Linked DNA regions of Homo sapiens: region 1 is linked to region 2. The links are contacts of gene promoters, found by promoter capture Hi-C in blood cells and fetal thymus (Javierre and others, 2016). All regions are on one chromosome and are shown on one strand. The core of a region is centred on a gene start or on the middle of the fragment in contact, and the rest is flanking DNA. Distances in the headings are between cores, read along the strand shown. Region 1 holds the start of LOC124900215 (a long non-coding RNA gene). Region 2 holds the start of LRRC73 (leucine rich repeat containing 73).

The links. Contacts are between HindIII fragments. The CHiCAGO score rates a contact against its expected background, and 5 or more counts as called.
Region 1: a fragment that was not itself captured here is called in contact with the fragment with the promoter of LRRC73 in region 2 in 2 of 17 cell types (total B cells and naive B cells); the score reaches 5.5 in total B cells.

What each region holds. Positions count from the first base shown.
Region 1 is chr6:42,979,877-42,985,197 of GRCh38, forward strand. LOC124900215 (a long non-coding RNA gene) reads right to left here and starts at 4,438. Exons shown (of 2, transcript XR_007059580.1): 1 at 3,956-4,438; 2 at 666-967. It overlaps PPP2R5D (protein phosphatase 2 regulatory subunit B'delta), which reads left to right and starts at 4,694. Exons shown (of 16, transcript NM_006245.4): 1 at 4,694-4,828. The coding sequence starts at 4,802. RefSeq lists silencers at 1-107, 1,346-1,564, 4,743-4,812, 4,903-5,052 and an enhancer at 4,473-4,592. The HindIII fragment of the contact is 2,641 bases long and covers 1,814-4,454 here.
Region 2 is chr6:43,507,787-43,513,687 of GRCh38, forward strand. LRRC73 (leucine rich repeat containing 73) reads right to left here and starts at 2,560. Exons shown (of 6, transcript NM_001012974.4): 1 at 1,728-2,560; 2 at 974-1,134; 3 at 512-634; 4 at 40-140. The coding sequence starts at 1,999. YIPF3 (Yip1 domain family member 3) reads right to left here. Exons shown (of 9, transcript NM_015388.4): 4 at 5,802-5,847; 5 at 5,573-5,665; 6 at 5,283-5,414; 7 at 4,975-5,088; 8 at 4,654-4,777; 9 at 4,046-4,529. The coding sequence ends at 4,381. RefSeq lists silencers at 2,138-2,407, 2,428-2,717. The HindIII fragment of the contact is 9,076 bases long and covers 1-5,901 here.

The sequences.
Region 1 (5,321 bases), core at 1,884-4,383, 530 kb before region 2:
ACCCCCCCCCCCCAAATCCTTGCAGATCGGAAACCCATTCACTTTCTATCCTAGAGCGGGGCAGGCAGCAGAGCAGGCAGAAGGAAAGGAGTTCAAGGCTTCTGTCAGCATAACACCAACAGTCGACTTCCTGCGTGTGCTGTTATTTAGATTCCATCCTTCTCTTCACCTCCACTGTTCTGTACAAGACACTCAGCTAGTGGTAGGCCACATTTCCTTTTTTATGGCAACAGGGTCCTACTCTGTCACCCAGGTTGGAGTACAGTGGCACGATCCCCATTCATTGCAGCTTCTACCGTCCCAGGCTCAAGTGATCTCCCACCTCAGCCTCCCGAGTAACTGTAGCCGGGACCACAGGCACACGCCACCATACCCAGCCAATTTTTTTTTTGAGACGGAGTTTCGGTCTTGTTGCCCAGGCCAGAGTGCAATGGCACGATCTCAGCTCACTGCAATCTCCGCTTCCCAGGTTCAAAGAATCTCCTGCCCCAGCCTCCCAAGTAGCTGAGATTACAGGTGTGTGCCACCACACCCAGCTAATGTTGTATTTTCAGTAGAGACGGGGTTTCACCCTGTTGGTCAGGCTGGTCTCGAACTCCTGGCTTCAAGTGAGCCACCTGCTTACGCCTCCCAAAGTGCTGGGATTACAGGCATGAGCCACTGCGCCTGGACTAATTTTTTATTTTTTGTAGAGACAGAGTTTCTCTGTGTTGCCTAGGCTGGTCTCAAACTCCTGGTCTGAAGAGATCCTCAGGCCTCAGCCTCCCAAAGTGCTGGGACTACAGGCATAAGCCATCATGTCCCACTGCATTTCCAATTATTAACAATTATTTTCACTTACAATAAATGAATTGGATGGTGCCAATCTCCATTTTCTAGACCTTACATTCTCTTTCAGCTACTGCTCAGCTTTCTCCATCTCTCCTTTCTTCTTGAGGCAGTCTTCTATTTTGTACATTATACATTCCTGAAAATTTGAAAGACAAATATATGAAAACTATTAGATTTGCATATTATAAGGGGCTGGGCGCAGTGGCTCATGGCTGTAATCCCAGCACTTTGGGAGGCCAAGTGGGTGGACTGCTTGAGGCCAGGAGTTTGAGACCAGCCTGGCCAACATGGTGAAACCCCGTCTCTACTAAAAATACAAAAATTAGCTGGGTATGGTGGTGTGTGCCTGTAGTCCCAGCTACTCGGGAGGCTGAGGCAGGAGAATGGCGTGAAGCCGGGAGACAGAGCTTGCAGTGAGCCGAGACTGCGCCACTGCACTCCAGCCTGGGTGACAGAGTGAGATTCCGTCTCAAAAAAATAAATAATAGAAAAAAATAAATAAAATAGCATGCAAGAATGTACTAACCAGGAACCATGGCTTGTGTCTATAATCCCAGCTATGGGGAGGCTGAGGCAGAAGGATCACTTGAACCCAGGAATTTGAGGCTATGATTGTGCCACTGCACTCCAAGTGGGTGACAGAGCAAGACCTTGTCTCTTAAAATATATAAAATTAAAAGAAAAAAAAACTAAATAAAGAATGTTCTAGGTACCTAGATTCACATGGATGAAAGTTCCCATTTGGTAGTGCTACTATATGTTTCTTGGTCCCCTATGTCCCAGAGGAACCAAGGGCTAGATAGATGGTACATGGGCCTAAAGAGGATATGCCTGCTTTCCTCAGTAGCAGGCAAGCTCTAGGCCTCAGGACTATAGTGCTCCTTGAGGCCTTGGAGATGGGTAAAAACATCAGTTATCTTGCCTGGATCAGCACTCATACAGACACAAATACCCACCCACAAATAAATGTCCTTTTCTCCCAAGCTTTTCTCCCAGCAGGTAACAGCGGGCATGTAGTCCACTTTGTGTTACCCTGAAATCGTCATTAGTCACCGAAAGCCAAATACTACTTCTGTAAGATCGCCAGGACCCTACATTTGCCATCTTCACTTCCTCACCTCTTGATGCTCACTCTTCCACTCACTAAAAACGGTCTTCCACTCTCTGAAAAAATCACCCATAATCTTCTAATTGCAGAATCAAGATGATGCTGTTCTTTCTCTGACACTACTGACCAATTGTCTTTTATTTCCTTTGCCATTATGACACCAGTTGTCCTCCTACAACTCTGATCACTTCCAGAAATCATCCTCAACTCTTCCCTTTCCGTTACCGTCCCCCCCACAATACAATGAATCACCATATCCTGTTGATTCTACACATTTTCATGCTCCATCCTCTCTTCTCCATCCCCACGGCCACTGTCTTGTAACATTGCTCTCCTGGGTACCTGGGTAAGGGACACAGGTTTTGTGTTTTTTTTTTTTTTTTTCAGATGGAGTCTTGCCCTGTCGCCCAGGCTGGAATGCAATGGTGCGATCTCGGCTCACTGCAAACTCCACCTCCCGGGTTCAATGGATTATCCTGCCTCAGCCTCCTGAGTAGCTGGGATTACAGGCACCCACCGTCATGCCTGGCTAATTTTTGTATTTTTGTAGAGACGGGGTTTTGCCATGTTGGCCAGGCTGGTCCTGAACTCCTGACCTCAGGTGATCCGCCCTCCTCAGTCTCCCAAAGTGCTGGGATTACAGGCGTGAGCCACTGCGCCTGACCTTTTTTTTTTTTAAGACTAAATATTTTATTTTATATAGAATTTTAAAAATTTATTTTTTGTACATGAATAAGTTCTTTAGTGGTGATTTATGAGATTTTGATGCAGCCATCACCCAAGCAGTGTATACTGTACCCAATGTGTAGTATTTTTTTTTTTTTTTGAGACGGAGTCTTGCTCTGTCGCCCAGGCTGGAGTGCAGTGGCATGATCTAGGCTCACTGCAACCTCTGCCTCCCGGGTTCACGCCATTCTCCTGCCTCAGCCTCCCGGGTAGCTGGGACTACAGGCGCCTGCCACCACGCCCGGCTATTTTTTTGTATTATTTTAGTAGAGACGGGGTTTCATCGTGTTATCCAGGATGGTCTCGATCTCCTGACCTCGTGATCCGCCCGCCTCGGCCTCCTAAAGTGCTGGGATTACGGGCGTGAGCCACCGCGCCCGGCCTCCATTGTATCATTCTCATGCCTTTGCATCACAGGTTTCTTCTTTTTTTTTTGTAGACGGAGTCTTGCTCTGTCGCCCAGGCTGGAGCGCAGTGGCATGATCTCGGCTCACTGCAACCTCCACCTACCGGGGTCAAGTAATTCTCCTGCCTCAGCCTCCTACCGGGTTCAAGTGATTCTCCTGCTTCAGTCTCCCGAGTAGCTGGGACTACAGGCGCGCGCCACCACGCCCCGCTAATTTTTGTATTTTTCATAGAGGCATGGTTTCACCATGTTGGCCGGGATGGCCTCGATCTCTTGACTCGTGATCCGCCCACCTCGGCCTCCCAAAGTGCTGGGATTACAGGCGTGAGCCACCGCACCCTGTCTAATTTTTGTATTTTTAGTAGAAATGGGGTTTCACCACTATGGTCAGGCTGGTCTCAAACTCCTGACCTCGTGATCTGCCCACTTTGGTCTCCCAAAGTGTTGGGACTACAGGCGTGAGCCACCGAGCCTGGCCACAGGTTTATTCTTTTTGTCGTCATTGTTGCTGTTTTGAGACAGAGTCTTGCTCTGTCGCCCAGGCTGGAGTGCAGTGGTGTGATCTCGGCTCACTGCAACCTCCGTCTCCCGGGTTCAAGTGATTCTCCTGCCTCAGCCTCCCGAGTAGCTGGGATTACAGGCGTGCACCACCACACCCAGCTAATTTTTGTATTTTTAATAGAGACGGGGTTTCGCCATGTTGGCCAGGCTGGTCTCGAACCTCTGACCTCAGGTGATCCTCCTGCCTCAGCCTCCCAAAGTGTTGGGATTACAGGCGTGAGACACCGTGCCTGCCTGGTTTACATTCTCTCTTAATCCTTTGTTTATACACATCTGTGATTCACCAGACTGCGAACTCTTTGTGGGCATAAACTGAGTCTTACCCATTAGAACACGGACTTGAGCAGGGTGGCAAGTAAGGGATGGATTTCCTGAGACAGTCAACAATGAAGTTGCTTTTCCACTGCGTTCCCAACTGCTCAAATCTAGCTGGTTCCCCAATCCCAGTACACTTGCAGTAGCAACGGGGACCCTCTTCCTAAAGTTGCACCAAGCCAGGGATTCTCCACTCATTTCGCCCAGGTCCTAGCCCTGCCAGGCTTCCCCTTTGCTCCTCTGCAACCCCTGTCTAGGGAGGCGGGTGTCTTGGAAGGTCCTTGGGAGCTCCCTCCATCAATTTTGCATCTGCAATTAGGGCTACTTTACCCCAGTGAAGAAAGGTGCCCTCCGTATTAGGGCTTCCTTCCTCCAATTCCGACTGGACAGGGTAGCAGAGCGGGCAAAGTGTGAGAGCCTTTAGAAGGAAAGAGCAGGGCTCCAAGCGCCGCGAAGAATGGCCGAGGCCGACGCACAGCAGACGCTGGAGTGCAGCCCTCCTAGCCAAGCTTGGGTTTCCCCTTATCCCCGCCTCCTTCTCTAAGCTCGACCCACTTTAGGGCGGGACCACCCACTTCAGCCAATTCTGGAAGCCGAACCCTGGCGGTTTGTACTATTTCTTTCCAATAAGAAAAAAAGGAAGCAGCTTGGCTCCAATGACCAATCCGAGGAGGCGGCGCCTGGTTGTCAGGCAGTTTTGTAGGAGTTCGGGCCAATTGGAGGCGCAGGCACCGCTCGACCCGGGCGCAGCGCGCAGGCGGTGGCGAAGAGACGCCGAGCGGGCCGAGTGCGGCCGAGCAAAGCCGGAGCCGGAGCGGGGCCGCAGGAGACGGGCCGGGTCCGGACGGGCCGAGATGCCCTATAAACTGAAAAAGGAGAAGGTGAGCGTGGCCCTTTTTCCCCCACCGCCGCCTTGGAGCCTGCGCGGAGCTCTGGGAGGGGCCGGAGCCAGGCCCGGGACAGCCCCAGACTGACCCTCCCGTCCAGCCCCCGCAGGACTCCTGGGGCCAGCCCTCCGCCCCCGCGGCTGGCAGCACCCCCAGCTTGTGCCGCAGCTAGGACAGCTCCCCCACCTTGCCCCGGAGAGACTCCCCCCACATACACCTCCCTCCCTTCTTCCCTTCTCTTACCCCCGGCCCAGGGTAACCTCCTTCTTCCAGATCTGCCCCATTCCCAGGTCACTGTCCTGCTTTTTCTGTCCCCCCCATCACCCCTGGCCCCGATCCCCCTTCGGTTTGGGCAGCCCCTCATCTGAAACTGCACCTTCCTCCAGAATTGCCCCCTCGCCCCGCCCTGAGCAGCCCCTTGTCTCCTCTTCCTACCCGCCTGGGACAGCCGCCCCGCAGTCCCCTACGGCCCCTTCTCTTTCCATGC
Region 2 (5,901 bases), core at 1,310-3,809:
CCCATCCCCTGGCCGTGCCCAAACATGACGACTTCCCACCTGAGCTGACTGGTTGGTGAGCCCTGTGCCCTCCAAGTCTAGGACCTCTAGGGTACGACTAGAGGCCACAGCTACAGCCAGCATTCCTGCCACATGGTCACCTGGGGAGACAACACACGTGCACACATTCATACACATGCCTGCTAATCCTTACAGATAGCTTCCCCATTGCCTTAACAACTTTAGATACTAATCCCTGGCCAAGGAAACATGGACAATTGGTGGTGGTCAGGAAGGGATCATTGTGATTGGTGAGTGAAGGCACGAAGCAAGTTAGGCCCACGGGTGGTGACTGATGTTTTGATCTATTTGTTGGTCACCTGGTCCGCCACAAAGCTATCTCCTTGACCCCTGGGGGCTCCCGTTTCTCTTCCCTCTCCCAGTGTACGGGTTACCATGTCAACTGATGGTCCCAGGCTCTTGGATAGGGCATGAGGCAGTGACAGCCCAAGGGGGTATTCTTGAGCCTCACCCAGGGGGTTGTAATCCAGATTGAGGACGCGGACCTGGGAGCTGTGGGCCACGGCAATGGCAAGGCGGCTCCAGCCCTTAGGGGTGATGCCAGGGTTGGCACTCAGCGTTAGCTCCTTCAAGCCTGGGCAGCATCATAGCAAGAAACCAGAATAGGGAGGGTTAAGCCCTCCTCCAGCCCTTCCCCACAATCCCTGTGTCTCTGGGGTGTCCCTAGTGGCTGGGCACCACCTTACCCCCACCATAGAGGTCAAGAGCCATTAAGGAGGCCCATGCTTCCTCTGCCTGCCCCAGCCTGGATTCCTGAGTCTCCATGCTGCCCCCCGTCCTGCCCCTTCCTGAGAGGAGTAGAAAGATGTTCTCGCCCACATCATCAGAGCTCTGGGGCCACACCCCCTTCCCTCTGCATTTCGATTTTCATCACTGCCACACTAGCCCAAGCCCTCAACAGGGTCCTGCTCACCAGATTTGGCCCCATCTGGGGGCAGGAGGCCACAGATGAGGTTGATGGCTTCATCACCCAGCATGCAGTCCCCCAGGTCCAGAGCCACGAGGGCAGGGTGGAGGGCCAGGGCTGGGTTCAGCAAGGCCAGCCCCGCATCTGTCAGGGGGCTCCCATGCAGGCTGGAGGAGAGTGAGAGAGCAGGGTTACTGCAGTCCTCCGCACTATCTACATGGGAAAGGGGCACTTTCACTTCTGTCAGCCCTAGGTATGGGGAGGGCAGTCACAGCGCTTGAGAGGCCTGGAAAAGGAGAAGGAAAGTTCTAGATTCTCAGGGAATACAGATAGAGGGAGAATTCGGTTTGTTTTCTGGGGCAGGGATCCAGGACATTGCACAGGGAGGGGCAGAGAAGGGGTGGGTGGGTGGTGGACCGGAACTCTGCAGTGGGCAGGGCTCTCGTCCCCACGGGGATATTCCCCCTTGGGAACCAAGGAGCTGCCCCAGTGAAGTAAATGCAGATGATTAGGTGGGGAGGTACGGCCCCCACCTCATGTCAGGAACTGGTGGGTATCCCAACACGGCTAGGGTCGCGCGTGCAAAGTCCAAGCATGTGCTTGGAGGGTGCTGTGAAGGCATGGGCCGAGGCACGGTGTATGTGCATAAGGCATGTGAAGGTAGGATGGTACTGGAAGGAGTGTGGAGGAACAGGAGGTGCCAGGGGAGTGTATGGAAGGGTGCAGTGCCCGGGACCCCCTTGCGAGGGGGCGCACTCACAAGAGGGACTGGATGGAGCGGTTGGTCCGCAGAGCCTCAGCCAGCTGCTTGATGCGGCTGGGGCTGGACACGACGCCCAGGTTAAGGTTGAGCTGCGCCAGGGACGTGGCCCCGGCCAGGGCCCGGCAGATGCGGCCAAAGTCGCGGTCGCAGAGGCGGCAGCCGCGCAGTGAGAGCAGGCGCACGGCGTTGTCGCGAAGGCCGCGGCAGATGTCCCGCACCTCGGCGCCGGACAGCGGCTCCCCCGAAATCTGGATGGAGCTGGGCAGCATCGTGCCCACGGCTGGGCCTCCGGGTACGGGGCCGGAACGGAGGTTGGTGGGGCCGCGGGCGGGGCCGGGGATAGGGCCGGGGTCGGGGCCCCGGCAGGGGTCGCGGGCGGAGTGGGGCCGGGGGTGGAGGCGGCGGCTGTGGCGGAGGCTGCGGCTGCGGCGGAGGCTGCGGCGGGGGCGGAGAAGAGCTACCGGGACTGAGCCGGAGCCGGCCAGAGGTGCGGAGGCGTCCAGGGCGCGGGCCGGGCTGAAGTGGGGCGGCGCTGGGGCGGGGGCGGCCCGCACGGTCCGTGTCTGGGCGTTGGGGCGGGTGCGCGTTCCGGGGGTTGGGCAGGCGCTGCTCGGCGCTTGTCCTTGTCCCTCGCGGTCGCGGCGGCGGCGGCGGCAGCGGCAGCGAGCGGCTCAAGGGCTTCGGCTTACCGGTCTCGGCTAGGAGGCCGTACCCGCTCCCTCCTTCTCTGCCGCCCGGCTCCCCCCGACCACCCCGCGGGCCTGGCCGCACGGCTGGCAGAGAGAGCCTGAGGCGGGCGGCTGGCGGCAGCTCCGGCTCCAGCTCCAGAGAGCGAGCGGGCGGCGAGTTCCCATGGCAACGGCCGCGTCACCGGCGCTCGCCCCGCCCCCTGCCCGGCCAAGGCCACGCCGGCCCGCGAGGTTCGCGTACACTGGGTGGTTCGGGGCAAGGAGCTGGGAGCGATAGGCCGCTCTTCCCTTGGGAGTGGGGTCAGCCAACTGGCAGGCGGCAGGCGGCAGGGCTGAGTGGGTAGGGCTGACGGGGAGCGGAATGGAGGCACGCCCCGTGGAGATGGCGTTGGGCACGGTTACTGCTGCTTCTGCCCATTCTTCCATCCTTCCCCGTTCCTAAGGTCCATACCCCCGCCGGAATCCAGGGCACTGTTCCCTCCTATTTGGAAGGCCCCAGGGCCCTTTCATCCGCGCCGCGCCTCGCTCCCGCCCCCGTGACTCGAGGCGCAGCGTGCGTGGTGATCCCGGCCCATGGGGACTTCCCCGCTTGCTCCTCGCCAAGATGGCGGCCTCATCAGGGAGGCCCCAGGGGCCACGGCTGGGCAGAGCCAGCTTGAGCTGCTGGGGAGAAGGGTACCCCATAGGGTCCCTAGGGCAGGGGAGCCTCAGATAGATGCAAGGTCCTGGTGCCACACCTTCTCAGGTACGCAGGGCACTGTTGACATCTGAGGGTGTGTCCGTGCCGCGAGACTGGGGCAGCCAATACAAAGAAGGTGCCAGGGCCAGGGCCCTGGAGCACTGGTGAGGACGTGAAGGCGGCTGAGCCACACTGCACGGTGCAGGCGGTGCTGTCTCAACTTTGTCCTCTGGCCAGGGTGGTGGGGGACTCACTTGTGTAACGCAGGACAAATGAAGGGCACCTCTGTTTGTCCCTTTGTTAGGAGGGATAGATGCTGCTGACCCAGATTTACTAGTGTTAAGATGATTATTTTACATAAAATATAATATTCAATATAGTGAAGGGAGGTCAAAGGCCCTATTCCCACTCTTAGCCACCTGAATTAACTTATTAAGTGGAGCATATTAAAGAGGTGGTGGGGGTGGATGGTGCTATGTTAGGAGTGGTGGTTGGTTTTAAGAGGAAAGACAGAAAAACTAAAAGGAGCTGGCCCCAGTACCACCAAGGCAAAGCCAAATTTGGCTTCAATTAAGAGCTCCACAGGAAAATTATCAACACAATGCCCAGGTGCAGAAGATCCTTGTTTTGACACGGGGTTTAAGTCGGGATGTTTTGTTCAATTGTCACTGCTTCCTTGGCTTCCCAAGAGAGCAGCTGAGCCCAGACTCAAGCTGGCTGCAGTGTTCCATCAGGCTTATGGCTTTTGTGCTTGAGGCCTCCCTGCCGCTTCATGGGTCAGGTGTGATATTCAATCACTGCCTTCTATGTAGTCTGGCCTGTCCCACCTTTATCTTGCCTGGGTGAGGATATGAAGAAGGGAACATATGACATTACCACTGTTGACTGAGTAGGAAAGTATATAGGAAGCGGGATGACAGGGAGGACCACTGGATCAGCCGCTGCAGTTCCAGACTTCAATCAACATTTTAATTACCAAGTCTATATTTAGCAAGACAATGTGGGAGAGATAAAGAGGAAGGAAGGGGTAGGTGGGGAGGGGTTCTCAAAGGAGCTGACCCATTTTCTGCATTGGCTGCAGAGCCTTGCAGTCCTGGCCAGGAGTTCTTGGCCTTGTGCCTTTCAGAAGTGCCGACAGGCATCAAGGAGGTACTTACGCAGCTACAGCTCAGTGGCAGCTGCAAACCCCATCTACGAAACATGTCATCAGGACTGTCCTTTAATAGTCTTCCTCCTCTCTGCAGCTGCGGGAAAGAGGACTGGCCAAGAATTTCAGGTGGGGTCAGTGTGACTGCAGGGTCACCGCAACAGCTTTGGCTGTGGCGTTGAGGACGGTGGTGGGAAGCCGAGCAGCAGGGAGCATGGCAGGGATGTCTCTGGGGACCCTCTGGATGGGCGGGATGTTGGGGCCCTCCAGTGTGTCCAGGATCCCTGGAAGGAAGATGGAAGGTGAGCGAGGATCAGATGGGCCCAGCCCACCAGCCATCATATCTAGCTTCTTGCTCTAGGCAGCTGCTTTCCCATTCTCCCCCACCCAGACCTTCCTGCCACTTACCCTCTACCACTTTGTGGTAGGCAAAATGCAGATAGAGCAGGAAGAGCATGTGTAGGGCAGCCAGGGTGCCACAGAGGAGCAGCCGCTGTGTGGGGCCCACGGTCCGAGACACCAACACTGCTACCTAGGACCATGAGAATACAGCTCAAAGGGCCTGGCTCCAAAGTGAGGAGTGGGGACAAGACACCCCCACCCAGGGCAGAACCATCTTTGGGCTCTTCCCTCCCATTTAGGGCTCTTTGTGAGATGGACAGCTCCAGGCTGTCTTCCCCAACTCCCTGGGAGGACAGCCCACCCCTGGAAGCCTCTTGCCCAGCTTACCATGCGCAGTGTGGACAGTCCACCCACCAACAGCCAGAAGAGGTAGAAGAGGGCGTGGAGGTGGATATTATAGGTGATGAACAGGACAATGCAATGCCCAAAGAGGCCATAGCCCTGGGAAGGAGGATGGTGGAGAGGAAAATCATTCAGGTTGGGCTGCTTTCTGGCCCCTCATGGGGACCCTGGGAAACACATGGTCCATTGGCCTACTCCTCCCATTCCAGGCTTTGGGGCCCCAGGACAGATGCCGACCAAGGCCTGGCTACTCTTTTTAACATCACTCTTGCCCACCACACCTGGCTCCTTACCAGCAGTGCCAACATCTGCAGCATGGTGATCTGGGCGTTGCACAGGTAGGCAAGGAAGTAAATGAAGGATGAGACTCCCAGCCAGTAGCCGAAGCAGGTGCCAATGGCTGTGCCCATCAGGGTGCCCTCCCGCTGTGGGGTGAAGGCTCTATTTAGTCCTAGGAGGCCTCTGATCTCAGCCTCACCTAGGGCCTTCCGCAGGGGCTGTTCCTGTCTCACTCCACCATTGTATCCTCAGGCAGCTTTCAACCTAGTGCAGCCACCCCCCCAAAGTTGTCTGTCCTGCTTACGATAATAGTGTCAGACGTCTTCATCCCATGGAGTAGGATAGCAACCAGAGTGAAGACCAGCATGAGAGGTCCATAGAGTTCACCTGCAATTTTCTGTCAATATACCAATTCATTCAGGCTGGAGGGTACAACAGCTCATCTGTTTATGGCTTCCCAGGATTTGCCTGGTGGTCCCACCCTCTGCCCTGGTGCTTCCCCCGGCTCTCCAGACATGCCACCCTCTATTCACCTGGGGGAAGTTGACCATCTTGATAGGGATCATGGACTCCAGGAGCCTGGGAGAGGAGAGGAGAGATTAAAGCAAAGGCAGCACAAGGCCATGAGGTTCT